7 separate regions of the Homo sapiens genome follow, and regions 2, 3, 4, 5, 6 and 7 are each linked to region 1. Evidence: promoter capture Hi-C in 16 types of primary human blood cells and fetal thymus (Javierre and others, 2016). All regions are on one chromosome and are shown on one strand. The core of a region is centred on a gene start or on the middle of the fragment in contact, and the rest is flanking DNA. Distances in the headings are between cores, read along the strand shown.

Region 1 (3,835 bases), core at 339-2,838:
GTGGAAGCCCTAAGTTTCCTGAAGAGTTCTAAAAATTCTTGGGAGGATCACATACTCATGATCTCATCTGCTTTCTAGACTCATCTTCCTACATGTGTTGCCTTTTTATTTACCATATTGTTATGGAAGCTCAATTCAGCCATTTCATACATTTCCACCAAAACAACTCACCAAACCGAGCACTTGTGGGTAATGGAGACTTTCCTGAAGACCTTGGTAAGAGTGATAATGCTCATTGCAGAGCAGGAAACTCTGTAACCATAGTGGTCACTTTGGCTTTCAAAATCTTTTTATTAGCTACACAGTCATCTTGGGTTCCTGTTAGGATTTTTTCCCTCACCCAGTGGTCAGCATCCCACCTCACTGTTTGGATGTTTTCCCATCCAGTGGCCAGACTCCCATCTCTCACTGTTTGGATATTTCATGAGAATTTACATTCATTTCCTTTTATAATTTAGAGCAGTTCAGCTTTTTTAAGTTCCCACTCCAAAATCTTAAGTTGCTCAGCAAATAAAAGGACTCTCTCCTTCCAATTCTCAAATAGTATAGTTTTAAGGGGAGGTTATGATTATTAAGTGCAAACAAAAAAAATCTGCATATGTTTGTGTACCCTAGGATCTTGGGTCAAACCAGTGCTGAGGTGATGAATGACTACAGCAAAAACTTCCTGAGGGCAGGAACTGTGTCCCCAGGGCCTAGTTCGGTACTTGGCAAATTGTGTTAGATTGGTGCAAAAGTAATTACAGTTCTTGCCAAAAAACCGCAATTACGTTTGCACCAACCTAATAGCATGTAGTAAATATTTTTAGAAGAGAATTACTGAATTGAGAAAGTGTTTGACGAATGTTCGGATGAATGACCAGCAATTTAGTAGTTTATAGTAATGCCATGAAGTAGAAAATGACAAAGACCGTTTTCATATCTGTATTTTCACAGAATTTGGTTGCGGTTGTTATAAAATAAACTAAAAAGTATCATTTTACATTTTAGCTATTTTACAAATATGGTTGTGCTCGGGTAATGATTGCAATAAAAAATTGCTGGTTAAATTATTCTAAAATTAATAATAGAAAAAACGATGTTGGGAAATGCAGCAGCACAGAAAGGAGCAGAGGGCGACTGAGAAAGTAAATTAACATTGTATTGAATTCCTAGTCTTTATAAGCTTCTCTAAAAAGCGATTTTTAAATAGTAATCTTTTACAATCCGCACTACACCCCTGGTTGTGAGATAGTATTTCCCCTTCTTAACAGATGTGTACCTTGACGCTGACAGACTGGTTTGCTACCAGGTGCACGTGGAGAGCGAGCACTGGAACCCAGCTCTCCTAAATCTAGATCACGCTGCTGTACTTGAAGGCTAGATGTCTCTCTTCTGATTATGCGTGATAAGAAATCAGTAAGAAGAATAAAAGACATGTTTGAGAGCCAACATAAACTTGTCCGAACCCCTTACAATCGATGACCGCAGGGAGCCGCTGAAGAGCTCCGAGGCGGTCGATAGCCTCCGCGAGCTTTGCGTGCGCGTGCCCCGAGAGGGCAACGCCCACCGCGCGCCGCCAGCGACGCCGCCGTAGTGCTCCGTCGCCATAGCGACTACCCCTGGCAACCGCGAAGCTCTGCGGTCCCGCGGTCGGGCTACGGGTTTGAGCAAAGCTCCTCTCTTCCCTTCACTTCCCTCCGGACTGGTTTCTTCTTCCTTCCCCCTTCCCCCAACTTCCCTCCACCCCTTCCAATCATGGCGAACGGGACTGCGGACGTTCGGAAGCTCTTCATCTTCACTACTACCCAGAATTACTTCGGGTTGATGTCTGAACTCTGGGATCAGCCACTGTTGTGCAACTGTCTTGAAATCAACAACTTCTTGGATGACGGCAACCAGATGCTCCTCAGGGTGCAGCGATCCGACGCAGGAATCTCCTTTTCCAACACGGTACGGTTCCTTGCACTCCTGCCTGACCCCTGACCACTCTTCAAGTCCCCAGGCCCAGCCAGAGGGACGTCGGGTCACACTCTTTAGCTTTACCAACCAGATCCTTTTCAGGAACCCAAGGCTGTCTCCACTTCTCCTGCATTATTGGCTTAGATGCGTTGGCCTCGTGCTTAAGCAGGTAGTTTCCAAGCTTTGCATCCTACCTGACCGAAGCATGTTTCCCTTCCATACATCTGAATAGAAGCAATTAGATTGTGTTTTATTTTAAATTTTTATACGGAGTTTCGTTCTGTCGCTTAGGCTGGATGGAGTGTAGTGGCGCGATCTCTGCTCACTGCGTCCTCCACCTCCTGAGTTCAAGCGATTCTCGTGCCTCAGCCTCCCGAGTAGCAGGCGCGCGCCGCCACGCCTGGCTAATTTTTGTATTTTCAGTAGAGACGGGGGTTTCACCACGTTGGCCATGTGGGTCTCCATCTCCTGACCTCAAGTGATCCGGCCTCCCAAAGTGCTGGGATTGCAAGCATGAGCCACCGCGCCCGGCCTATATTCTACTTTTTAAGAAAGACTGCAGATACGTTATAACTAAAAAGAAAACATTTACTTAGTTATTTTTATTTTTTTCTCTCCCCTTTTTGAGTTTTTTTTTTGGGGGGAAGGCAAATTCTAGTCTATCTTTTTTGGATCAGGCTCTGATTTTAACATTGCCCAAGGGAAAGATTAGTTAGGAATTTAAATTTTTGTGAAATGATATATTTCAAAATAAAGTTTGAATTCTTTTTTGGTGTACATCATGTGATATACTGATTTATTAATTGCACTGCTCCCTCCACTGGCAGGATTGCTTAAAAAATGGGTTGCATTTGCAATCAGGGCTTATATATATAAGCCTAAAAGAAAAACACAGAAGAAAATTGCCTGACACATTAAAGGGGACTCAGTAAATAGATTTAAGTTAATAAAACAAAGACATATTTTAAACCTCTTCCTTTGGTGTTCACCCTTATCCCTAGGTCTAGCAGAGTTTTTGACACTCAGCAAAAACATTCAGTGCCTTTTTTTTTTTTTTTAGACGCAGTTCGCAGTTTCGCTCGTATTACCCAGGCTGGAGTGCAATGGCACAATCTTGGCTCACTGCAACCTCTGCCTCCCGGGTTCAAGCGATTCTCCTGCCACAGCCTCCCAAGTAGCTGGGATTACAGGGCATGTGCCACCACACCCAGCTAATTTTTTGCAATTAGTAGAAATGGGGTTTCACCATGTTGGTCAGGCTGGTCTCGAACTCCTGACCTCAGGTGATCCACCCGCCTTGGCCTCCCAAAGTGCTGGGATTACAGGTGTGTGCCACCGTGCCTGGCTTCAGTGCATTTTTATAGGATGATTGAATCATTCACCCTATTCACTATCTTTATTCTTAGGTTTAATTCGATTGTATTTAATAAACATTTACTTTGAACTCAGTACATGCAAGGCACTTTGCCAGGCATGATGGGTTTACAAAGATATAAAAAGGATGGATAATCATAGCTAACATTTATTTTCACTTTAGACTCTGTCAAGCACTGTTCTAAGTACTTTATATGTATTCGTTCATTTAATAGCCATAACGACATTGTAAGATAGGAACTATTCTTTTTCTTATTTTATGGCTGAGGAAAGTAAGGGACAAAATTTACAACCTAAATGTTAACTTTTCTTTTTCTCCAATAGGTAGCGTAGTTCAGGATAGAGCCCCCTGCTTTCTGCCTTTCCTAGACTCACTCCAGTGGCTTAGGATGACATATACTCAGCAAATGATAAAATCAGGACACACTGTTGTAAATGCCACTGAAAGTTCGGATAGAATGCAGTAGGAAAGATGGAAAGGGGTTTGGATTCGTGAAAGTGTATCTTGGCTTGGGTATTT
Region 2 (3,835 bases), core at 433-2,932, 3.0 Mb after region 1:
AAAGTGGAATGATTGGTTTGACTGGTTCATAGGGCTTTAATTATACAATTTACCCCTCTAATTAGTACTATATGTATGTGACTTCCCTCCCCCTGCCAGAATACTCCTTGGTCAATTGTAGGTATTCTTTTTGGTTTAATTTTTGCCAATGTAATTAAAAAATGGTATGTCATTTTTAAAATTTGTATTTCTTTCATTACAAATAAGATTGTTATGTCAGTATTGTTATTGGCTTTTCGTATTCCTCTTAACGTGAACCGTCTGTTCATTGTTTTTACCTGTTTTCGTTTTAGCAAGTAGTACTTAATTTAAAGTGTGAACTTAATATATAAGATGCCAGGACCATCATATTGATGACAAAAATCTATTATGTGGTTGTAGTGCATGTCTTGGAGTTAAACTCTTAAGTATCAAGAAGTAAAATAATTTCATTGTTTCTGTTACTAACATTAAAAGTGTGCAAATTGTATAAAATTAGGTACTTCGATTAGTAAAAGAAAAAAATTTGAATGTTTTTTTTTTTTATTTTATTAAGCATGCCCAGTTATGCCAAGCATAGTAAATAAAGGTCAAGTAGCATTTATAATAGAGGAAGTATTGTTATCCCTAGCATGAGTGTAATGGTGATATGAAAAACTTTGTCTTGTCATTATAATAATAAAAAAATGAACATTTATTATGGAATTTCTATGAGCCTGACACTGTGTTGGATTTGTGTTTTTTAGTTTTTAGTTTTTCTATTACTTTTAATCAAAGTTTCATGTGTACACAGCTTTAAAAAATTGGATAGATCTGTAAGATTTTTTTCCTAAGGAAAAAGGCCATTACTCTGACTTCTTCCATTTCCTGTCTCCAGGGCAAGCCCTTTCAACTCTTTTAGATGTTATTTTTTTTGTTATTTATTACCATGTCTCCAAATGACATGCTTATATTGCTTTTACTTGATTTTTTAATTTTAGGCATTGTTTCTTTGATTTTCAAAATAAAGCTTCCCTCTTCTGCTTCCCAGCATTACACATTCCCTTTTTATCCCCTTTTCTCCTCCCAACATAACAATTCAATGTTTACATTGTTGACTGTGATTACACTAAGGATATGTGTACATTATTGAGATTATGTAACTGCTGTATACAGCTGAGTGATGTATTATCCTTACCATATACTAATTTCTTATTTCCTTTAGTTAATTGACTGCATAGATTTCTACCATATGTATGAATATCTTCTCTATATGTTCAAACGTAACAATGATTCCATCAGTTTCTTTCATCTTTTAAAAAATCACTCCTAGAGCAATCTGCTTTGTCCAAGTTGGACTTTGTGCCTTCTATGGCTGGTGTACAGCTGTAATCCTGGGATCTCCTTTACCATGATCCTGGGGATTGTCTCTCCTGTGTTGGATTCCCTGTTCCCCATTTGCTATCTCTCACATCTTAGATTTACTCCATTCATGTGAAATAGCTTTTTGAGAACAAAGTGGGCATAGGAGTTACATTTTTTGAGACTTCTAAGAGGAAGGGACAGTCCTATGCAGAGTGGTATAGGGATCTAGTTGTTTCTTAAACCCATTATCCTATCCCCCTCCACATGAAGCTCTTTGTTAACGCTGTATTCATATCCACTTTTTCCAAGTATTTGATGGCTGCATTTTGCTGAGTTTTGTGCTGGGCTGGCACATGCTGCTTCATACTCATGTCTGCTGGGTCCAGTTATAACATACTGACCAATGTATGGCTTTATTGGTCTCTGTTAATGTGTTTCCTGCATAGGAACTCTCATAAATTTATTTTTAAAATGAATCTGTATATTTGTGTCTCTTCCATTTCAGACTCAGAAATTGAAAAGATTTGGATAAATTTTCAGTTAAATTTTTCACTATCAAAATTAGAATTGTTACCTATTCAGAATCTGAAACTCAAAAACCAGTTAGGTTTGAGTAACTCAACAGCTCCTCACTAGTGGAACTATTACCATCTGAACTTGAGGACCAAATAGATTTATAAATACACATATGCAAATATATCTTTGGTCAAAAATATTCCTGAAAACAACTCCAAGTATCAGTACGTTTAAAGAGGATATGAAGAGAGCTAATGAATGATGGATTTCATTTTTATGGGGGAAATAAATATACCTTCATAGTATTTGTGAATTTGGGATTGGCAAAGGTCTTTGGATGTATTCCCAGTTTATCAGTTAATGTCAGGTAACTGCTGTATATGTCTTATGGTATTTATATTAGAAGCTATTTTGCATCTTAAGCACTCACATATCAGGCTATTTAATTCTTATAACTCTATGGAGTTGTATTGATGGGGAAAGTAAGTTACTGAGTTCTTGAACAACTTACTAAAGGTTATATATTCATTGAATACTGAAGCTTGTTATTTGATCAGAGTTAGGCTCAGATCTTTAGATCCAAAACCTCAGTCAACCACTATACTTAGTGGTGTGCTGGTAAATATTTAACAACCAGCAATCCTGGGGCAGGGAAGAAGAGACCTTTATATGTAGCTTTTGCTTATTCCATGAAATAATGACGTGTAACCAACACCTAGGTTTAGCACATGTTGGCATTTTGTCATATTCGCTTCAGATCTTTTTTCCTCTCATTTCAGGAATAAAACAAATGCAGCTAAAGACTTCCTACCCCCTAGTTACCACCCCTTCATCTTTCCCTTTCCAGGGATAATCTCCAATATTTGTAATTTTATGCTGTTATGCGTTTACTATTTGTATGTATAGTGTTTTGTGATTAAATCTTACATTTCCCTATTAGGATTGAAACATTAGGATGGAATCTCTTTGTGTGCTACTTAGAAGTAACAACAGTGTCAGAATAATTGAGCTCACTTAAGCCCACACTTCTCAAGGAGTATACATACTTAGGAGTAGGCACTGGTGTGTGGTAGTAACTCATCAAAAGATAGCAATTGGTCATCTAGAGGCATTCGTTTTATCTGAAATTTTGGAAAGAATCTTTTCATAATAAAAGTATTACAGACATTGTAAGTAGCATGCAAATTTGCCTGTATTTTAAGTAAAAAGGTGTGGGGCTTCAGAGGAATTTTCCTGCCCACGAGTACATAGTTGCTGTTCTTTTAGGGTCATTTTTGAATGAAAACGAATTTCATTTTGAATGTTTTTCATTTTGAATGAAAAAACATTGGAAAGGAGCCAGCATTAGAAGGGGAAAAAAGTAACATTTGTTGAGTACTTAAGCAGTAGAGCCCAAATCTTGGTGTGGTATACCCCTCTGCAGGTCACCTTTAGGGGACTGACCGTGTTGCAGGTGTAAGACCACTTTTTTACTATCCTAGAAGCCTTCAGCAATAGGCAAGTGAAATCCCATAAATTTGATGCTCCTGATAGTTCCATGAGTGTTTTCGGTTGTTACTTAGCACCCTTTAAAGCTCTTCATGCTTTTTCCAGTGTTGCATGAGCAAGAAGCCTGCTAAACTAGTTGTTCTTTTCCCCTCTAAATCCACTATCTTTCACCCTTCACTACCGCAGGAAGCTGACTTCTATGTACCTTGTTGGCCAGGCTGTCTTTTCCTTGATCGGGTTTTGCAAATAGAGGTGGGGGAGGGTATTAGCAGAGGACTAGGTAGAAAGGGAAATAGGATGATTATCCACTTGCCTTCCTGCCCTGCAGTGGCTTGGAAATAGCTGTGTTCCTCAGCATCACAGCTTCTGACATAGCCTTCTCCATATATACATCTCATGGGTTCAGGAACAACTTTTCCCTGCCTTTTCATTTTAGAAGTAGAAAGATCTTGCTCTTGCTTAGCCTAAGCTGCTGCACCATCTCCATAGATTTTTGTTATTCTTGCCT
Region 3 (3,835 bases), core at 460-2,959, 3.0 Mb after region 1:
TAAATGATGAGTTAATGGGTGCAGCACACCAGCATGGCACATGTATACATATGTAACTAACCTGCACATTGTGCACATGTACCCTAGAACTTAAAGTATAATAATAATAATAATAAAAAAGAAAAATAAATGATGGAAAGACAATTGAGCAAAAATTTAAGATTTAGTTTTCCTGTTAATTGTGTTATTAGACCTCCCCCCACCAGTTTTTTTTAGTTGATCTTACTTGACTAATCACAATGTCTAGGCCTTTTCCTTTTCTTTATTTTGTTGTGAAAAAGCTGTTGCTATGTCCAGTAACACAGAAAGGAAGAGAGATTTTCCAATTGTCACTAGTGTTGTTACCATGCTACTGATTCCTGAAGCATCAATGGACACAGCATGATTTCTTAATGAAGATGGGAAGTAGACACTGATTTGCTTCATTGGAGATTCTTTGAATTGCTCTACTTATTGTAGTAAGTGAGGAGATTGAGCAAGGGATTTTTCCTAAGAGTCTTGCTAAATGATGCTAGGCAAAACTTAGGAGAGCAGCAAGGAAAGTACTCTGTTTTGTACTAGGCATTGTTACTAGATTGCCAACTCTAAAGACAGAGTTGGCTTTTGGGGGTTATCATTAGTGCATTGAAAGAGTCAATTCCATTACTCTGTCTTGTCCTATAGGTAAGAATCCACTAGGAACTCAGAGAGTCTTTTTCTTTCATGGTGCATTAACCATTTCTGCTGAGTGCAGCTCATTTCCCTCCCTCTACCTGTTCTCCCAACTGTTGCTGTGGACGTGCAGGAGAGAACATACCTAGTATATAGCCTACCATATGCCAGGACGGTACATTCTTACTCTTAGGAAGAATGGTGTTTTCCTGGTCTTCATCTTAATTTATTACCCTCTTTTGGAAAATTTTGGTTGGTTTTCCCTTTGTTTTCTAATTTTTTCTACCATTAAAAGTGTTTGAAGTGATAAGCATAAAGGGTAACTTTTGAATTGTTTAGTTTTGTGACCATATTTACAAAGTAAGGCAAAATAAAATAGACAAAATACATAAAAATTATGATTGAAATTTGGGAAAGGACCAGAATTTTCCCCCTATGGTTTTACATGTTCGTCTTTACATTTTTAAAATAAACTTTGCTGGACTTTTTTTTTTAAATGCACTTGGGATTTAAAACCTGTAAGTAGTTTTAGAAACTCACACATCACTTTGTACTCTGAATTCCTTACTGGAAAACCAAGTCTCCACCCTCAAGGAGTTTTCCTCCTTCCCAGTTACAGGTCGGTCTTTTTCCTTTGTCAGTAGGATTTGATTGTGTAACTAGTATTTATTGAGCAATTCCTACAAGTGTGTGACACTATATTAGATGCCTAATAGGTATTATTTCATCTTTGTAAGACTAGTGCGTAAGTACTACTGTTATTTTATATAAAAGGTTAAGACATTTGTCCAAGTTGACTTAGCTAAAAAGTAAAACTTCATATATTTAACCACTGCTCTCTACAGTATATGGCCTCTCAGTATGAGATTTTATTGATTCCTATTAAAAGAATTTGCAGATACCAAAATATGAAAAATTCTGTGAAACTGGGTTACATACATTTAAAGTTGTTATGGAAGAACTAATGACTAGGAATATGAAAAATATAGTAAGGGTCTTGCCTTACCAGTTTCAAAAACTTGTGTTAGTCATTGTAAACTAAAAAGAGTATGGTACTAGCGAAAGAATAGACAACTGGAAGAGTTAATCTTAGAGCCCAGGATATATACATATTTCAATTCAGTGGATAAAAGATTATTTATTAAATGGTGCTGGTAGAATTGGTTAGTCATGTGGATGTAACACATACTATATACACCAATTTGGAGGAATTAGAAATTTAAAAATAAAAAAGTTTAAAATTTTAGGACAAAATATAGTTGACTATGATGTCGAGTTGCAGTAAATCTTTTTATGAATTCTTTTCAAACGAGACAGAGTTCAGAATTTATCAAAGAATGGATATTTAAATTTAAAAAAATTATATTCCAAAAATATAACCAAATACAAAAGATAAATAATAGAATAAGGAAAATTCTTATAACAAATTTGGTAAGGTGTCAATATCCATAATATATAAAGAGCTTCTATGAAGTGATTAGAAAATATTAATAGGCACGTTACAGAAGAACAAATTCAAGCAGTCAGTAAGCTATTACCTTAATGATTAGAGTAATGCAAATTAAAGTAACAGTGAGGTGCCCATCAGATTTGCAGAAAATTGGAAAAAAAACACTTAGAGCTTGTGAAAATGTCGGAAAAGAACAATCATATAGATGGAAACACTAGAAATTGCTACAGGCTTTTTGGAAAATAATGTTAAAATTGAAAATACACATAGTCTTTGATTTAGCGATCTTGTTTATAGTACTCTATCCAAAATATTTATGAATAACAACAAAACCTGAATGCTGCTAATAGAAATTGGTTAAATAAATTAATGGTGGATGCATTCTGCAGATAATTATTAGCTGTAATAAAAGAATTAGTTAGGTCTATATGAACCTGAAGGGACTTAGAATATATATATATTTAATATTATAATAGAGACAGGGTTTCTCCATGTTGCCTAGGCTAGTATTGAACTCCTGGGCTCAAGTGATCTGCCTGCCTCAGCCTCCCAAGTGCTAGGATTACAGGCGTGAGGTGTGAGCCACTGTGCCCAGCCAATATCACATCATAGAAAAATATATATAGCAGAATCTTTTTTTTTTTTGAGACAGAGTCTGGCTCTGTCGCCCAGGCTGGAGTACATTGGTGCTTGGCTCACTGCAAGCTCTGCCTCCTGGGTTCAAGCAATTCTTTTGCCTCAGCCTCCAGTGTAGCTGGGATTCCAGGCACCCGCCACCTGGTATTTTTAGTAGAGACGGAGTTTCACCACGTTGGCCAGGCTGGTCTCGAACTTCTGACCTCAGGTGAACTGCCCGCCTTGGCCTCCCAAAGTGCTGGGATTACAGGCGTGAGCCATCACACCTGGCCGGGTTTCCATATTTAAACAATATTCCCAGCTGATAGACATATTAATGTTTGGGAAATTCTGTATTGGATGTAATTTACAGAACTAACAAAAAGAAAAATTGTAGCCCATTTACCATTTTTTATGAGTGATATTATCAGAAAGTCATTGCCTCACACTATAACAAAATTAAAGTTTTATTAACACTTTTGGTTTGTTTGTTTTTTTTTGAGACAGTCTTGCTCTGTTGCCCAGGCTGGAGTGCAGTGGCGTGATCTTGGCTTACTGCAAGCTCCGCCTCCTGGGTTCACACCATTCTCCTGCCTCAGCCTCCAGAGTAGCTGGGACTACAGGCACTTGCCACGACGCCCGGCTAATTTTTTGTATTTTTAGTAGAGATGGGGTTTCACTGTGTTAGCCAGGGTGGTCTTGATCTCCTGACCTCGTGATCTACCCGCCTCGGCCTCCCAAAGTGCTGGGATTACAGGCGTGAGCCACTGCGCCTGGCCAGTTTTATTAACACTTACTAGAACACAATGTAATTGTATATTTGAGCAAACTTCTGAAAGATGGCTTTTGAAGCTTAAAATAATAAACCACTAAGTCAACAGATATGATTTCATATTAAATCATCTTTCACAAACCAGAGAATATATTGGTGGCAAATTTGACAGACAAAGGTTAATGTTGTTAAGATATGAAATGCCCCTCTAAATATCGATGGGAAAACCACTTAAGCCTTACTTGATGAATATAGGAAGGACTTTATAAAAACAGTTGACAAAAGAAGATACACATTTAACCATGACTTTGACAACAACCTCAGAGCTAATATTTATTAAGTACTTG
Region 4 (3,835 bases), core at 984-3,483, 3.0 Mb after region 1:
TCAGAAATCCAAGATAGGTAAAGATCAGATAATTGTGAATATCATGAACTGCAAATTCAGCTCTAAACATAAAAGTTGCATCATCAAAAGCAAGGAAGTGGGAAACAGAAAGGAAAAGAGGATTGGGAACTTGGAGAACCAGAAAAATAGAAAACCTTGATTCGACATTTCTGTTCCAGTTATCACCCTAAAATTAGTGGCTTAAGACAACAATTTATAATCTCTAATGGTCCTGTGAGTTTAGGTGATGATTCTTGCTTGGGAGCTTTCATACAACTACAGGCAAATGGCAGCTGTGGCTGAAGCCATCTGAAGGTCTGACTGGGTTACATGTCCAGTATGGTTTCCTCATTCACGTTTCTTATGATTCAGCTGGGACGGCTAGAAGAGAGGGGATCTTTCTTCCTTTTTTTGTTTTTTTTTTCTGAGAACACTTAAATATTTATTGATTCATTTAAAAAGAAAAAATTTGATATAACTATATTCGATATATCTATTTAATACACATATTCATATATATCCATTTTATATACATACCTATGTATATAACTATATATAACTACAAAAATATATAAATGGATAACTGTAAAATAACTATTTTCCAAAACAAAAAAAAAGTTTCTTGAGAAGGGTTACATTGTTTTATATTTTTGCAAATCTCTTTAACATCTGGCTTAATGGAAGACAACTAGATTCTCATATCTGCTTCTTTATTCAATCTTTTGTGAAGCTGTATACCATGTGGGCACACATTTACAACCATCTGATCTTTGACAAACCTGACAAAAACAAGCAATGGGGAAAGGATTCCCTATATAATAAATGGCCCTGGGAAAACTGGCTAGCTGTATGCAGAAAACTGAAACTGGACCCCTTCCTTACACCTTATACAAAAATTAACTCAAGATGGATTAGAGACTTAAGTGTAAAACCCCAAACCATAAGAGACCTGGAAGAAAACCTAGGCAATACCATTCAGGACATAGGCATGGGCAAAGACTTCATGACTAAAACACCAAAAGCAATTGCAACGAAAGCCAAAATTGACAAATGGGATCTAATTAAACTAAAGAGCTTCTGCATAGCAAAAGAAACTAGCATCAGAGTGAACAGGCAACCTACAGAATGGGAGAAAATTTTTGCAATCTACCCATCTGAAAAAGGTCTAATATCCAGAATCTACAAGGAACTTAAACAAATTTGCAAGAAAAAAACAAACAACCCCATCAAAAAGTGGGCAAAGAATATGACACCTCTCAAAAGAAGGATATGACACTTCTCAAAAGAAGACAGTTATGTGGCCAACAAATATATGAAAAAAATCTCATCCTCACTGATCATTAGGGTTTTCTCTTTCTTAATGCACCCTCTCCAAGTGGCTAGCTGGTGCTTCTTCACAGCATGACAGTCTCAGAGTGGCTGGGCTTCTTGCATGAAGCTTGGTTCTCCCAGAGCGGGTGTTCCAAGAGGCCTAGGTGGAAGCTAGATACTGGAGAAGTAGTCCAAATTGTCCTACAGCATCAATTAAGGCTCCATTCCAGGACCAAGACAATCTACTGTTGTGCTATGCAATACAGTAACCATGAGCCATGTGTAGCTATTTAAATTACTTGTAAGTAAACAAAACTAAAAATTCAGGTCCCTCATTGCTCTAGCCACATTTAAGTGGTCAGTCATATGTGGTGTGATGAGTGACAATTTGTTTGGGACACAGAGTGCCCACATTTTTGGTTAAACATTACTTCTGGGTATGTCTGTGAGAGTGTTCTAGATGAGATTAACATTTGAATTGGTACACTGAGTAAAGCAGATTGTCCTCCCCACTGTAGATGTGCCTCAGCCTGTCTGTTGAAGGTCTGAATAGAACAAAAGGCTGAATAAGAAAGAACTCTTTCTTTCTGCCTGACTTCAAGCTGGAACTCAAACTGGAACTATACCATCAGCTCTCCTAAGTCTCCTGCTTGCTGACTACAAATCTTGGGTCTTCTCAGCCTCCATAATCACATGAGCTAATTCCTTATAGTTTTTCTGTCTGTCTCTCTCCATATATATATATTACAAACACATATACAAGTATATAGTAAAAATACCTATACATATGTATAGTACAAATACATATACATATATGTGTGTGTGTATATATATATCCCTTTAGTTCTGTTTTTCTGAATAAGTCAGATTAATACATCTGCCTAGTGACTACTATATTATACAAAGCAAATATAAAACATTCTCATCATCACAGAAAGTTCCACTGGATAGCCATTACACTGTGTGGAAAAATAGCGTGCCTGTGTGAATGTGTGTGTGGCTGTGGAGGTGTGTATGTGCCTGTGTGTGCAGGAGAAAGTAATAGGTTGTAACTGGCAGTACTGCTGGAAATCTAAGTGACTTGTAGAAATCATTTTGTGTGTAGTGTTCTGAGTAACTATGAATAGGGAGACATATTAAAAATGAGAGTGGGTATCATGGAGGAAGAGAGATAATGAAAGGCTTGGAGGTTATTTCTGAGGAAAAGGAACTAGAGAAAACAAAACCAATGTGATGGATGAAGATGAGGGCAGAGAGAGAGAGCAAGAGAGAGAGACAGTGAAAGATTGATTTATTATAAGCTCATGTGATAATAGAGGCTAAGAAGTCCCAAGATCTACAACTAGTTAGCTGGATACCCAGGAGAGCTGACAGTACAGTTTCAGTACAAGTGCAAAGGCCTGAGAACCACAACAGCCAATGGTGTAAGTTTCAATCCAAAAGCTGGCAAGCATAAGACCCAAGAGGAGTCAGTTTTTCAATTTGAGTCCAATGGCAGGAAAAGACTGATGTATGTCCCAACTCAAATAGGCAGGATAAATTTCCTATTACTCAGTCTTTTATTCTATTCAATTCTTCATTTGATTGGATAAGGCCCACCACACAGGAGAATCTGCTTTACTTGGTCTCCTGATTCACATGTTAATCTCATCCAGAAATATCCTTACAGACACATTCAGAATGTCTGACCAAATGTCTGGGCACCAGATGGCCCAGGCAAGCTTATAAATGAAATTAACTGTCACAACAGTTCAAATCTTGACTTAACAATGTTGATAACATATGACCTAGGACAGAAAAAGAGTATTTCAAATTACAGTGAGGCATAAAGACAATTATATATGGCTAATGTCCCAGAACTAATTCTTTACCTCACAAGGCATCTTCATAAGTCACTTGTAAGACTGTTTTTAAAATTATGCATGTTTTCTCTTCTTTTCTAATATTTATAAAATACACAGATATGAAATATTAGTTTGTATAAAAATCATACATCTTCCCAAGAGTGTGATATAATGTTGTTAAATAAGATGGCTATTAGCCTGAGGTTACCCTCTGTAGCCAGCCCTCTTATGTAAGAGAACTGAAACTTAACTTGGAAACATTTATTGTAACTGACTTAAAAACCAAAAACCAAAAACAAGCCTTAGCCAATCACAAACAGCCAACCAACCTGCTGGTTACAAATAGGGAACTTCCATCAGACAATATCCAAATAAGGCAAATGCCTAGCCATAGTCAATCAGGTAATTTCTCTACTTTGTTTCCATGTTCAACCTATAAAAGCTTGCTGGTCACACTGCTGGAGTGGAGCTCTCTGAACCTCCTTCAGTTTTGAATGCTACCTGATTCATGAATTGTTCTTTGCTCAAACTCCGTTAAATTTTATTTATCTAAAGCTTTTATTTTAACAATGCGAAATGAAAGAAAAAGTAGGGCATTAGAATCAGGCTTGAGTTCCAGTGCTGGTTCAGCATTTACTTGTGACATATTTGAGGTAAATAACTTCTAATTTTTTATTATT
Region 5 (3,835 bases), core at 673-3,172, 2.9 Mb after region 1:
AAGTGACTAAAAGGCTTGAAAGGTTTTAGTGGAGTAGAAGGACAACAGAACTCCCTTCACAATCCACAGTCTTTTTTCTAACATTTGTTGACTATGATGTAAGCTGTCAAAGGAAGGAATCTTGTTGTTAATCTTTATTTTATCTCCAGCACCTAGCATTGACCTTGCATTTACTATTTATTACCAAAAAAAAAAAAAAAAAATAGAATTCAGGTTGTGGAATAGACAATGATTACATAATTACTTAGAATAGTAGCCTTACTCGGTTAATCCATCATTGTTTAGCAGCTGACTGAGAGCTCTTTCATCCCACATTGCTCATTGCTTTTAATCCACTTCTTTATCAATCTTCATGGTACACTTAGCCCTAAATACCAAAGACTGTGTTGCCTATAAGCAACGTTCTTGATTTTTTCTTCTATTTAGTTGATTCATGGAGAGTAAAACAGTCTGTGATCAATACACAATAAGAGCAATGCAAATGTAAATGGAATCCTAAGATTGCTAAGAAAAGTTGCCTTTCATTTAACTTATGTTGAACTCATTTAAATTTTTTAAATGCAAGAGCTATGATTCCTGGTAAGGCTTTCTGGGTTGTTCAGCAATAGAAACAATATGTATAAATGTTTTTTTCTGAAGAGGAAAAGGCAAAAGAAACAACAATCCCAATGCCTTGGGTGGCTGAGGCAGGAGGATCATTTGAGGCCAGGAGTTCGAGACCAGCCTGGGCAACATAGTAAAACCTCATCTCTACAAAACATTTCGAAAGCAGCTGGGTGTGATGGCGTGTACCTGTAGTCCTAACTACTCAGGAGCCTGAGGTGAGAGCAGGGGGTGGGATCACTTAAGCCCAGGTATTTGAGGCTACAGTGAGTTATAATCAAGTCACTGCACTCCAGCCTGAATGGCAGAGCAAGACCCTGTCTCTTAAAAAAATAAAGTAACATAATACTATTCTGGTTCCTGATTGTAAGTTTAAAAGTAGATGAGAATATAATGCATTTAATGTAATATATGAAAGCCTATCAAAACCCCAAGAGATATTTTTACTCCTTTTTTTGTCCCTTAATTGCCAATTATTCTACTATATTTCATTCTAAAAAGAAACAAAAAAAGATTATGCTCTTCCTTCTGCAATAATATTGGATGTTAAATTTTAACAGGTCATAAATGAAAGCTGTTTTTATATGTATTTAAGATAAAAGGCTGATTTTTAATAACAAAGTAACTTTTGTTCTACTTTATGGATTTTTCCTCTTTATTTTTCTACTTTTTAGGCATGTTTTTCAGTTTGATTAAATGCCGCACAGTGTGTCTCATGTTATCTGTGTCCTAGTGCTAGAAGACATTCTAATACATTTTGTGTATTGATAGTACTGGCTCTCCCTCCTTCTTGGGGGATGAACAGGGCTTTATTTTAATACAATTTGGAAATGGTGTCAGAATTCAAGGTTTTATTACTATAGCAACAGAGAATAATGGAAAAACTAAATGTCAAACATTCGATGTTGCCATAGTAACAATCAGTTGCTTTACCAGATATATTTACTATTCCATTATGGTCAGTTTTTCAAATATGCTTATCCACGTGAATGCTCGAAAAGGGAAGAAAAAGTTCAGAATCATTTAAGAAAGAAAGAAGCTCCTCAAGAGATGAAAGTAATTTGTTTCACTGCCCATTATTTAGTAAGAAACTCACAGAATCCACGAAAAAAGGATATAAAAGAAACAGAAATTCACATTTCTGTCCTAATAAGTATTCTTTCTATTTGCAGTCAGAGAAATTGAAGCATGGAGTTTAAGGCATGTCTATTTTGTCATTTCATGCTATTTCAAACCATTTTCTCAGAGCTTCTGAAAATAAGGGATTCTGCCATATTGAAATGGAAAACATTTTTCCTTCTTAAGCAATGCCATTGAGGGCACATGCCTGCCAAACAATTGTACTGACCCTAAAGAAACTCCTTAAAGCAGGCAATAGTTTATTCTTGTCGATCTGATTGTCTTCCTTTTCCTTTCAGAAGCCTCCTCCCCTTGCAGACAAAACATTCTCATTATAGTAACTCATCAAGACCATTACTGCTATACAGCTTACTAGTGACCTTGTTCCATACCTGTCTCTTCCTTTTCCCATAATTATTTTCACTAGACTAAACCCAGGGAGGACAGGGGTGATGCTCATTTTCACCATTGGAAATGTAGTTTTTAGCACAATGCCCAGCACATTGTAGGACATAATAAATATTAGTTGAATGAATAAACTTCCATTAAAGGATATCCTTTGTTTTAGTCTCTCTAAGGCTCTACCGGATGACTGAAACACTAAACTCAAGGTATTTTGTAAATAAGCAACAATGGCCTAATGAGTCACTTTTTTCAAAGTAGAAACTACTTTAGAAATGACTGGCATTTTCTGATTCATCTGGGAGGTGGTTGTTGACAAGTCAAGATGCACTTATTCTATGGATACAATTTGCTAAATGGTAGTTAAGTTTCTGGATTGACTAGCAAAACTATATGTAATGCAAACTGCTCCTTGGCTATAAATAAAATAGTATCACTTTAATAGTTTCTAATTCCTTTCATAAAATTATTTCAGTTCTTCAAAATGAATTGCCATCTCCAATTCAGGATTTCAGGAGCTTATCTCTACCAGCCAAGAATGGTAGTTCTGGCAACAGGAAACATTCCCACGTGCCACTAATTTGTGGCTAATTATACTTCTATGGTAGGAAGGATAACATCCCCTGAAAGATGTCTAAGTCCCAATTCCCAAAACATGTAAATATGTTACCTTATATGGCATAATAGACTTTTCACATGTGATTGAGGATCACGTGATGGACAAATTATCCTAGATTATTTTGTTGGTCCAATTTAATTGCAAGGTTCCTACAAGTAAAAGAGGGAGGAGGAAAGTGAGTGTCAGAGCAATGGCTGTGTGAGAAGACTCCACCAACCAGTGCTGGTACGGAAAAGGCAGTAAGAAGCCCATGAGCCAAAGAATAGGGAGAAGCCTTTAGAAGCTGAAAAAGGTAAGGAAATTAATTTTAATCCAGTGACTCCAATTTTGGACTTCTGACCTCCAGAACTGTAAGATGATAAATTTGTGTTGTTTGAAGCCACTATGTTTGTGTTGATTTGTTACAGCAGCAATAGGAAACTAATACAACTTCCAGATCTATTTAAGGGAAACGAGCTTTCAAAGAGCAATGGTTCTGAGATGCTTTGGATTTAGCCCACGTAACATTGAGTTACAAACTCTTAGCTCACCCACTACAGCTATCTTTATTTTCTAGTGAGCAAAAGAACTCCAATCATATTGAAGAGGAAAAAACTAAAAATAATAATGAGAAATAGCAATCATAAAAAGACAAAAAAAAAAGCAAAAGTAAAAATTGTACAAATACATTAATTAATAAGAATCAAAAACCCCAACCAGGTTAAATCAACATGGATGATTCAGTAATAATTAGTTTTTCTCTGGAAAATTTTGGGGATTCTAATGATATGCATATCCATTTACGCAGAGGGACTTTGAGTGTTGTCAAGCATTTTGTGCAGTCTGATTCTAAGTGACCTCATGATATGTTAGTTTCAGTTTATGAGCATCAAATTTTATTATCCCTTAAAGGACTCCCTTAGAAGGTTACTCAGAATTTGTCCTTATCAATACAAAAAATTAGTCTTTGAAATAGACTTGTAAGAACTAAAAAAATAGCCCTTGGTTTGGAACACCTCCAGTGCAAACAGTAGGAAACCAAACTTTGAGAAACAGCGCGTAATCATTCTTCCTGCAAGTCTTGTATAATGAATTGGAGACAAAATCCCACTG
Region 6 (3,835 bases), core at 955-3,454, 2.9 Mb after region 1:
AATGCAAAATTAAAGTAATAACTGTCAACAGAAGAGCTGTATTAAAGCTACGTATCAACCTTGAAAATCAGAAAACACAAAGTGATCTAGTGCAGTGATTCTCAACTTTAGTGTGTATCAGAATCACTTGGATTGTGGAAAAAGCACCTTCAGAGAGCTGAAGGAAAATCATCAGGTCAAGCAAGCCCTTGGTCTCAGAATAAATATCAAAGAGACTAAAGATACGTGCTTTGTTCCTCAGGGAAGAGGGAAGGACAAAATATACTACAATATAGAAGATCAGCCATTTACTCTGTGTCACTTCTCTGAGCTTCACATTCAGAAATAACGACAGATACAACTCTCAAGAATTGTTCTACATATTAGGTTAGATAGTGTAATAAGTGCTTCTCCAATCCATAATACATACCTACTATCATTATTTCAACATCATTATTATTTGATACGGAGTACATCTTCCCCACCTACCCCCTACTCCCAAATGGCTGCTATTACTTATTTTAAAAGTCAAACAATCAGTCATTGGGTTCAAGCTCATGGACTACAAGTACCATTTTTATACTGGTATCATTTTTACTAGCTTCAACTATTCACTTATAAGATTTCAGTACATTACTGAAATGACATTTTTGTACCCAAACTAAGACAATGACTGAAAGAAAAGGAACTAAAGCTTTAAAATTGCGTCTTGCTTCTAAAGCATTAATAGTGAGAAAAAGAATTCTTTTCAAAGTGACCCATTTTAGAAAATTTCTGATGTTCTCTGTATTGTTTTCTGAATCTGAGAAGGCTATTTATAGATGGAAACATGGGAATAAAATACCTATAATCTTCATCACTTCCTATATTCAATATACTACACAGTAACATTTCATAGTTAAAGTTTTTGGCCATTTAAGTACCTACCCACATAAATATCTGAGGTTTTAATATTCTAAAACTATAAAACATAGCTATAGAGGTACACAGTTAGGCTAGGACAGGGTTTCTCAACCTCAGGACTAATGATATTTTGGGTTGGAAAATTCTTTACTGAGTGTGGGGGGGTGTTGAGGAGGTATGCATTGCACAGTAGCAACCTTTTCCCCACCCCAGTTTTGACAACCCAACATGTCTCCAGACATCACCAAATTGGTCTTCTGAAGGCCAAAATCTACCCCAGATGAGAACTTCTGGGCTAGAATTTTATATGGACATAATTGTAAACTCTGGGTACACAGACAATACAAGACTCTATGTAATATTATAAGGTAAAGAGTCCAGCACAGTAAGTTTCTGCTATACTGTTTACGCTAGGGCACAGCTTTTATATACTACTTAGGCATACAGTTATCCACATATAACTTTTTCCTACTGAACACTGACATTAGACAAGAAACCACAGCTAATCCAGCAACCATCATTATATCACCTGATATGAGAAAAATCTAGAGTTTTCAAACATTTGCTAAATGGAAGCCTGGAAAAATCACTGCAAGTGTCCTTCTTTCTGAATTCGAAGTCTGTCTTTCTCTACCTGTAAGCGTTCCTTTTCAATCTGCAGCTTCTCAGATTCAAACTTCAAAAACTGCAGCCTATCCTTTTCCAGTTGCAAGCGTTCTCGCTCAAGTTTTAACTTCTCTGTTTCTATGTCCTGTGGTTGAAGCATGGATTTTTCTCCTTGACCAAGTTCATTTTCCAAGGACGGTTTCTCTGAATTGACTATCTGTAACCTCAACTTTTCTCTTTCAATCTGCAGCCGCTCCTTCTCTAGCTGAAGCCGCTCATGTTCCATGTCTAAATGCCGCAGCCTCTCTTTCTCGATTTGTAGGCGTTCCTTTTCTACCTGCAGCCTTTCGGCCTCGATATCCAGTCGTCGTTTTTCCAACTCTAGTTTCTGTTTCTCAATATTTACGAGCAAATGAGGCTCATCATATGCAGATCTAGATGGTGTTGAGTTAAGGGTAAAAAACTCATCAATGTGGGGGAAATCGGGAAGTTCATTTTCTCTCCTGGAATCTGGTATGACGGATGACAACATTTCTTCCTCCTCCTCAATTTCAAACTAAGAGCAAAGAGAAAAGCAATTTTCAGTATTGACTTCTACTTTGTGGCAATTTGTCTAAATATTTCTTAAAAGCTTTCTGCGTCGTTTGGGGAAAAATACTTAATTTGAATTTTGAATATCATTTACACTGAATTACTTGATGTCTGTAATACATATAACCTAGGTAATTATATTTAGGTGGGAAGAAAAGTATTAACGATGTAAAGAGAAAAGCAGAATGACTTGTTATGTACTATTTTTAAATAAGCTTGAAAATCTTGGAATGTGTTAACAGTTCCTGAACAATAATCTCCCACATCAGAATTGAAAAGATTAAAAGAGGGTACAGAGGCTAATACTTACTTCAGGACTCTGCGGATCCCTTTCTTCCTCTTCCACCTTGACCTCAGTTAAGGATCCACCTGCATCCCTGAAATCTGCCACATTTTGCCAGTCAAAATTTGCATCATTTCGGAATCCAATCTTTTCATCTATCTCTTCAGTGAGAGAGTCATCCAAATCAGAGGAGGGAAGGGGAAATCCTGAACCAACCAGCTTAATGTTGGCCTTCATCCTCTTTCTCTTCATAAGTGCTCGCCAGTCAAGGTACCTTCTTTTCACCTCTGTCCCTGTCCTCTGTTCTCCTTCTCCTACAGCATTCACACACTGTGCAATCTCTTCCCAAGCCATTCGCTTCATCACATTAATTGTTGTATTGAGCTGCTTGGAAAAAATGACTTCTTTCCTTTTCGTAATTTCTTTCAAAAGGGTCTGAGTTTCTTGAACACTAAAATTGCTTTTCCTTTTTCTTTTCAACTGCTTCATTTTCAATTTCAATGCAGTTTTTATGGTAAGAGATGTGAAAACAATTTGAGGAATGCTGCAAAGCACAAAAACCAGGGATAATTCTTTGCTGGCCCTTAGTTCAAATCATTGTCTTCCATTCATCTAGTGGCAAGGCAGTCTGGATAATTCCTAAAAGGAAAAAAGTACAAGCAATCAATCAATCTGCAACTTCTACAACATACTTCAACCTAATGAACTATATAATTTTTAAGAGAAACAAAAAACAACCCTCTAAATATAGCTTAAAATTGTGTACTTCTTTATCTTTGCCAGTACTAACATAGTCCAAATTGCCGTTTTCTCCCCACTGGTGTGCTGCAAAGGTTCCTAACCAGTTGCCACTATTCATTCCTGACTCCCTTCCTACTACTTCAGCTCCTTCTCCCACAAATTCTCCCTCTCTCCTCCAATTGCACTGGCCATCTTTCAGCCACCTATTCCTGTCAAACTCTTTCTTAGTTCAGGGCCTTTGTCCACACTGTTCCTTCTGCCTGGAAAATGGATTGCTCCCTTCTCGGTCTATTTTATTCCTCCTCGGTCTACTTTATTCCTCCTCATCCTTTAGCTTGCAGATTAAGCATCCGTTTCTCAGGGAAGCCTTTCCTGACAAATCAAATTACTCCAGCATAAAATTTGCAGGACTCTTCCTAGACTGGATTTTATACTTGTGCTAACATACAGCTCAGAGTCTGTCCTTTCCCCAGTTCACTGCAAAGTTTCACAAGGGCAGGGATGTTTCCACTGGCCATCACCTCCCCAGAGCCTAGCAGAGATTCTGGCACATGGCATGCATACCATAAATATGTTTTGAATGAATGAAAGAGTCGATTTGCCAAAATAATCATTAGTTTGAGATATCTAAAAGAAAAAGTACACTTTGCAGAATAATTTTAGAGAAAAACTGAAAGGCTGAGCTGCAAAATCAATAAAACTCAGAAACCAATTTGAGACAATGTAATCTGA
Region 7 (3,835 bases), core at 363-2,862, 2.8 Mb after region 1:
GTTAGACTTTGTTAAAGAGGACTAGAATATTCTGTTTATGCTAAACCATAAAGTGAAAATATAACTGACTAACAGGCTCTGATCCTAACCAATCTTAGTGTATGGGATATTTATAAATTCAAAGAATCTTTTTTTTATTCTTCTCTCACATTACAATTCAAAAATGAGAGATGGGGCTGGGTGCTGTGACTCACGCCTATAATCCCAGCACTTTGGGAGGCTGAGGCAGGTGGATCACAAGGTCAGGAGTTCAAGACCAGCCTGGCCAATATGGTAAAACCCTGGCTCTACTAAAAATACAAAAATCAGCCAGGTATGGTGGCACGCACCTGTAGTCCCAGCTACTTGGGAGGCTGAGGCAGAAGAATTGCTTGAACCCAGGAGGTGGAGGTTACAGTGAGCCAAGATTGTGCCACTGCACTCCAGCCTGGGCAACAGAGCAAGACTGTCTGAAAAAAAAAAAAAAAAAAAAAGAGAGATGGAAAAAAGGCAGGACAATCAAGACAATATTGGCCTGAAGATATATTGCATTTCCTGAAGAAATGCAGGAATTATGAGTTTACAGCTTCTGCCTTAACCCAGGTGCTTGGACCAGGTGCCTTCCCTTCCACATGCAGAGAGAACTAGATCAAGAACAGGGTGAAGACCATTCATTTTATTCTCTCATGGCAGGCTGTCTTCACGTAATAAACACCCCCACCTGCATCAGTCTTGCACGCTCCTTCTCAACCTTCAAGACCCAATTCAAGTTGTTTCTCCTCTGTGGTATTTTTCCTTGTTCCATCCAGACAGCTCTAACCAAGCTTTCCCTTGGGCCAAGCCTTTACCTTGAGTCCGGCTACACACTTTTTAAAACTAAGTTTCTGTTGTTTATTTGGTCATCAGTCTCTTACTGATTAGGAGTACCAGTGCCTCACCTAGTGGTTATTCAACTGATCCCCAGTCTATATCATTCACCTGCTGAGAGAGGAAGAGTTAAATAATGCCTCTCTAATATGCACCTGTCCTCATCAACAAATAAAGCACCGAGAATAATGAGTCCTCAATAAATACTGTTGTACTGTTTCTTTTACATCTTCTCTTCCATAGTTGAACCAAAAATGTTGTACTACCTTGTTCAAGGGGAAAGTCAAACAGTTGTTCAAAATGAGTTCCATCTAGTGAGTAAAATAACAAAAAGGGTTTATGAAATTGCTATTGACTACAGATGGTGGTGGATTTGGTTTGGGGTTTGTCTCATCAAAAAAATGTCTACAGCAATGCAATGTTCTCCAGTAAAGAGATTTTGAGAGCACAAGGTATGGTGTTGCTACTTCATTCAATCAACATTTTAAGAGATTTTGTTGCCATGACTAAAGAAAGTAAGAATAAATTATTCAGAAATAACCACACAGACTTTAAGTTTCTAAGCATTCAGTATATTTTGGAACATAACAGTGTTGATATAGGCTCAGTACCTGCATACATCATTAAAGGGGAGTAAAAGCATGTTTTTAGTAACTTTTTTTTTCCCCAATAGGATACTCGATACTCCAAGCTATTATGGAAAAAGCAGGACAAAATGGTTGGCATGTCAGCGCTATATGTGTGGAAAATTTTAATGATGTCAGCTATAGGCAACTTCTAGAAGAACTTGACAGAAGACAAGAGAAGAAGTTTGTAATAGACTGTGAGATAGAGAGACTTCAAAACATATTAGAACAGGTAAGTCCTAGATTTTATATTTTTAACCTAGACCCTATACAGAAAAATTTAACCTTTGATTGACTTGTCCCCATCAACATCTTCTCCCAGCTTTTAATTTGGAGTGTGAGGTTTGAGAGTTTTCATTCCATGACTATCTTCAGGACCAAATCACAATCTTTTATCACCAAGGACCTTTTTGGTTCTTAAGTCTCAATGTATTTAGAAAGCTATTTCTCACATATTCTTAAGACTTGAATGAGTGAAAGACTCTGTGTGAATCTTGAAGAGCTCTTGGCCTCCAGTTTTCGAAAATATTAATGTTGAAGATTAATCCCATCTAAAAATAGTACAAAAATTCTAAATTTGTGGGTGCACCATTTTTAGAGGCACACTTACTTTAGAGAAGTGCTACATGAGAAACAGCAACATAAATTACTAAAGCAATAAAATAAAAGAAAAGTCAGTGGAATACTGTATATAATTTAGTGGAATACTGTATATAGCATGTTTTCTGCTAGGTATTATAAGTCAATACATTACTACCCCAGTGGAGATGGTTTTCAACTCTCCTCAAAATGGAAAAGTCCTTGAATAAATGTTTCAATAAATATTTGTTGATTTGATTTGAAGCAGCCAGGAAAAGATTAAACTGAGCTTTGCCGTTGTATTAAATGATAGGAAAATATCATCAAATAATGGATAACATCTGCCTTTCCCTACCCCTGCAGATCATGATAAAGCTTTAAAGGCTCTTTGGCCAAAATTGCAGTGAGTGAATGCCATCTAGTGGTTTTAGAAATGCTTGCTCATATTATCTACAATACGTTAGTTCAGCCAGACATGGGTAATATAATTTTTTGTTGGTTAGTTTTTTACATATAGCTTAACTGCATAATTATATGACTTGATTTCCATTAGTAAACTTGCCAATTTGGAGGTTTATTTATAGGAATAACTTTAGTATTCAATTGTAAGAATGAAAACCAAAATATATTTCAGAGATTCAGCTTTACTATTTGCAGGCAAGGGACTAGATGTCTTCAGTTTCCTTCCTCAACTATATTAGCATTTGTAAAAGTGAAAAGTAAAAGAAAACAAACAAACAAAAATGTTGTATTGCTAAAGTCTAAAGAAGCCAGACCATAAGAGGAAATAACAGAGTATTTACTTCCTGTCGTCCCTTTGTAGAAGAAAAAGCTAAATATATATATATATATACTGAAGAAATATATATGTTATTTTGGGAAATATTAATTAAAAGCCTATACATTACTCGGGCTTATTCCTAAGAGAGTCCAAAAAATTTTTGAAGTTGTAGCTATTCAATGTATATGAAATTTTTAAATGGTTAGTTACAGAATCCAAGAAAAATCTTTCTTCTTTCTTAAGCAATACAGCCACTTTACCTCCGACTCCCATTTCCCTCCCTCCCACTCCTGCCCCTGTATTGAGAGTTTGAGTTGTTTGACCTGAACAACTGAAGCTTTGTAAATAACTCACGATGAATCCCACAGAGCAGCCAATTCTAAGAACTGCCTGGATTGCCAAGTTCCTGTCAGAGGGTGAGTAAGGCTCAGAAAGACCCTCCACTTAGCACCTGTGCTTAAAAGACCAAGTCTGGAGGAGGCAATTGAGTGCCTAAAGCACACTGACCCATTTCAGAGGCTTAGCTGGTTTCTAAGAAGAAAATTGGCACACCTGGGTGCTTTGGATAAACTCTGAATAAGCCGTAAATGAGCTCCTGCTAAAGAAACTGGACATCTTATATATTTTTTGTCATATTAAAGAAATTAGAAAACTTGAGTGTCTACCTTTTCTATTCTTCTTGCCAAATTCTAAAAGGTTTCTTTTCTATCATGGTTGCATGGTAATAATAATAATAATAGTAAGAGAACTTTGTCCATTTAAAATGCCTCTCAGGTATAAATCTCATAAATTGCAATAAAGTCTACTGCATTGTGAGAAAATAATGTACTCTTAATTGTCCTATAAAATTTTCCTCCAAGAAAAGCTGTGTTTTTATTCTGAACATGCTGTTGTTGTTGTTTACTATCTGTATTTTAATTCCTTGTAGCTCTAAATGAAACAACTTTCAATGTTTTCTTGGTTTTACTCTTGGCTCTTCCACAAGAGCTAATCCATACTTTGT

The links. Contacts are between HindIII fragments. The CHiCAGO score rates a contact against its expected background, and 5 or more counts as called.
Region 2: a fragment that was not itself captured here is called in contact with the fragment with the promoter of DYNC2H1 in region 1 in 1 of 17 cell types (non-activated CD4 T cells); the score reaches 5.0 in non-activated CD4 T cells.
Region 3: a contact is called between a fragment that was not itself captured here and the fragment with the promoter of DYNC2H1 in region 1, in 1 of 17 cell types (total CD8 T cells). The highest score is 5.4, in total CD8 T cells.
Region 4: a contact is called between a fragment that was not itself captured here and the fragment with the promoter of DYNC2H1 in region 1, in 5 of 17 cell types (total B cells, naive B cells, naive CD8 T cells and 2 more). The highest score is 11.8, in total B cells.
Region 5: a contact is called between a fragment that was not itself captured here and the fragment with the promoter of DYNC2H1 in region 1, in 5 of 17 cell types (activated CD4 T cells, total CD4 T cells, naive CD8 T cells and 2 more). The highest score is 9.4, in activated CD4 T cells.
Region 6: a fragment that was not itself captured here is called in contact with the fragment with the promoter of DYNC2H1 in region 1 in 6 of 17 cell types (total B cells, non-activated CD4 T cells, total CD4 T cells and 3 more); the score reaches 15.6 in total B cells.
Region 7: a fragment that was not itself captured here is called in contact with the fragment with the promoter of DYNC2H1 in region 1 in 8 of 17 cell types (naive CD8 T cells, total B cells, total CD4 T cells and 5 more); the score reaches 11.7 in naive CD8 T cells.

What each region holds. Positions count from the first base shown.
Region 1 is chr11:103,107,838-103,111,672 of GRCh38, forward strand. DYNC2H1 (dynein cytoplasmic 2 heavy chain 1) reads left to right here and starts at 1,589. Exons shown (of 89, transcript NM_001377.3): 1 at 1,589-1,932. The coding sequence starts at 1,738. RefSeq lists enhancers at 1,182-1,301, 1,372-1,421. The HindIII fragment of the contact is 957 bases long and covers 1,164-2,120 here.
Region 2 is chr11:106,098,012-106,101,846 of GRCh38, forward strand. It overlaps AASDHPPT (aminoadipate-semialdehyde dehydrogenase-phosphopantetheinyl transferase), which reads left to right. Exons shown (of 6, transcript NM_015423.3): 6 at 1-684. Among named protein-coding and RNA genes, the nearest start is that of AASDHPPT, 22 kb to the left of the region's middle. The HindIII fragment of the contact is 1,392 bases long and covers 987-2,378 here.
Region 3 is chr11:106,081,906-106,085,740 of GRCh38, forward strand. The region is part of intron 2 of AASDHPPT (aminoadipate-semialdehyde dehydrogenase-phosphopantetheinyl transferase); the gene reads left to right. Among named protein-coding and RNA genes, the nearest start is that of AASDHPPT, 6.2 kb to the left of the region's middle. The HindIII fragment of the contact is 3,713 bases long and covers 1-3,566 here.
Region 4 is chr11:106,059,740-106,063,574 of GRCh38, forward strand. The region is part of intron 2 of KBTBD3 (kelch repeat and BTB domain containing 3); the gene reads right to left. Among named protein-coding and RNA genes, the nearest start is that of KBTBD3, 16 kb to the right of the region's middle. The HindIII fragment of the contact is 1,594 bases long and covers 1,437-3,030 here.
Region 5 is chr11:106,029,308-106,033,142 of GRCh38, forward strand. No RefSeq gene overlaps it. Among named protein-coding and RNA genes, the nearest start is that of MSANTD4, 9.0 kb to the left of the region's middle. The HindIII fragment of the contact is 4,460 bases long and covers 1-3,835 here.
Region 6 is chr11:106,008,067-106,011,901 of GRCh38, forward strand. It overlaps MSANTD4 (Myb/SANT DNA binding domain containing 4 with coiled-coils), which reads right to left. Exons shown (of 3, transcript NM_032424.3): 2 at 2,390-3,001; 3 at 1-2,044. The coding sequence starts at 2,851. The coding sequence ends at 1,469. Among named protein-coding and RNA genes, the nearest start is that of MSANTD4, 12 kb to the right of the region's middle. The HindIII fragment of the contact is 175 bases long and covers 2,118-2,292 here.
Region 7 is chr11:105,860,505-105,864,339 of GRCh38, forward strand. It overlaps GRIA4 (glutamate ionotropic receptor AMPA type subunit 4), which reads left to right. Exons shown (of 17, transcript NM_000829.4): 5 at 1,520-1,704. Among named protein-coding and RNA genes, the nearest start is that of MSANTD4, 160 kb to the right of the region's middle. The HindIII fragment of the contact is 1,623 bases long and covers 802-2,424 here.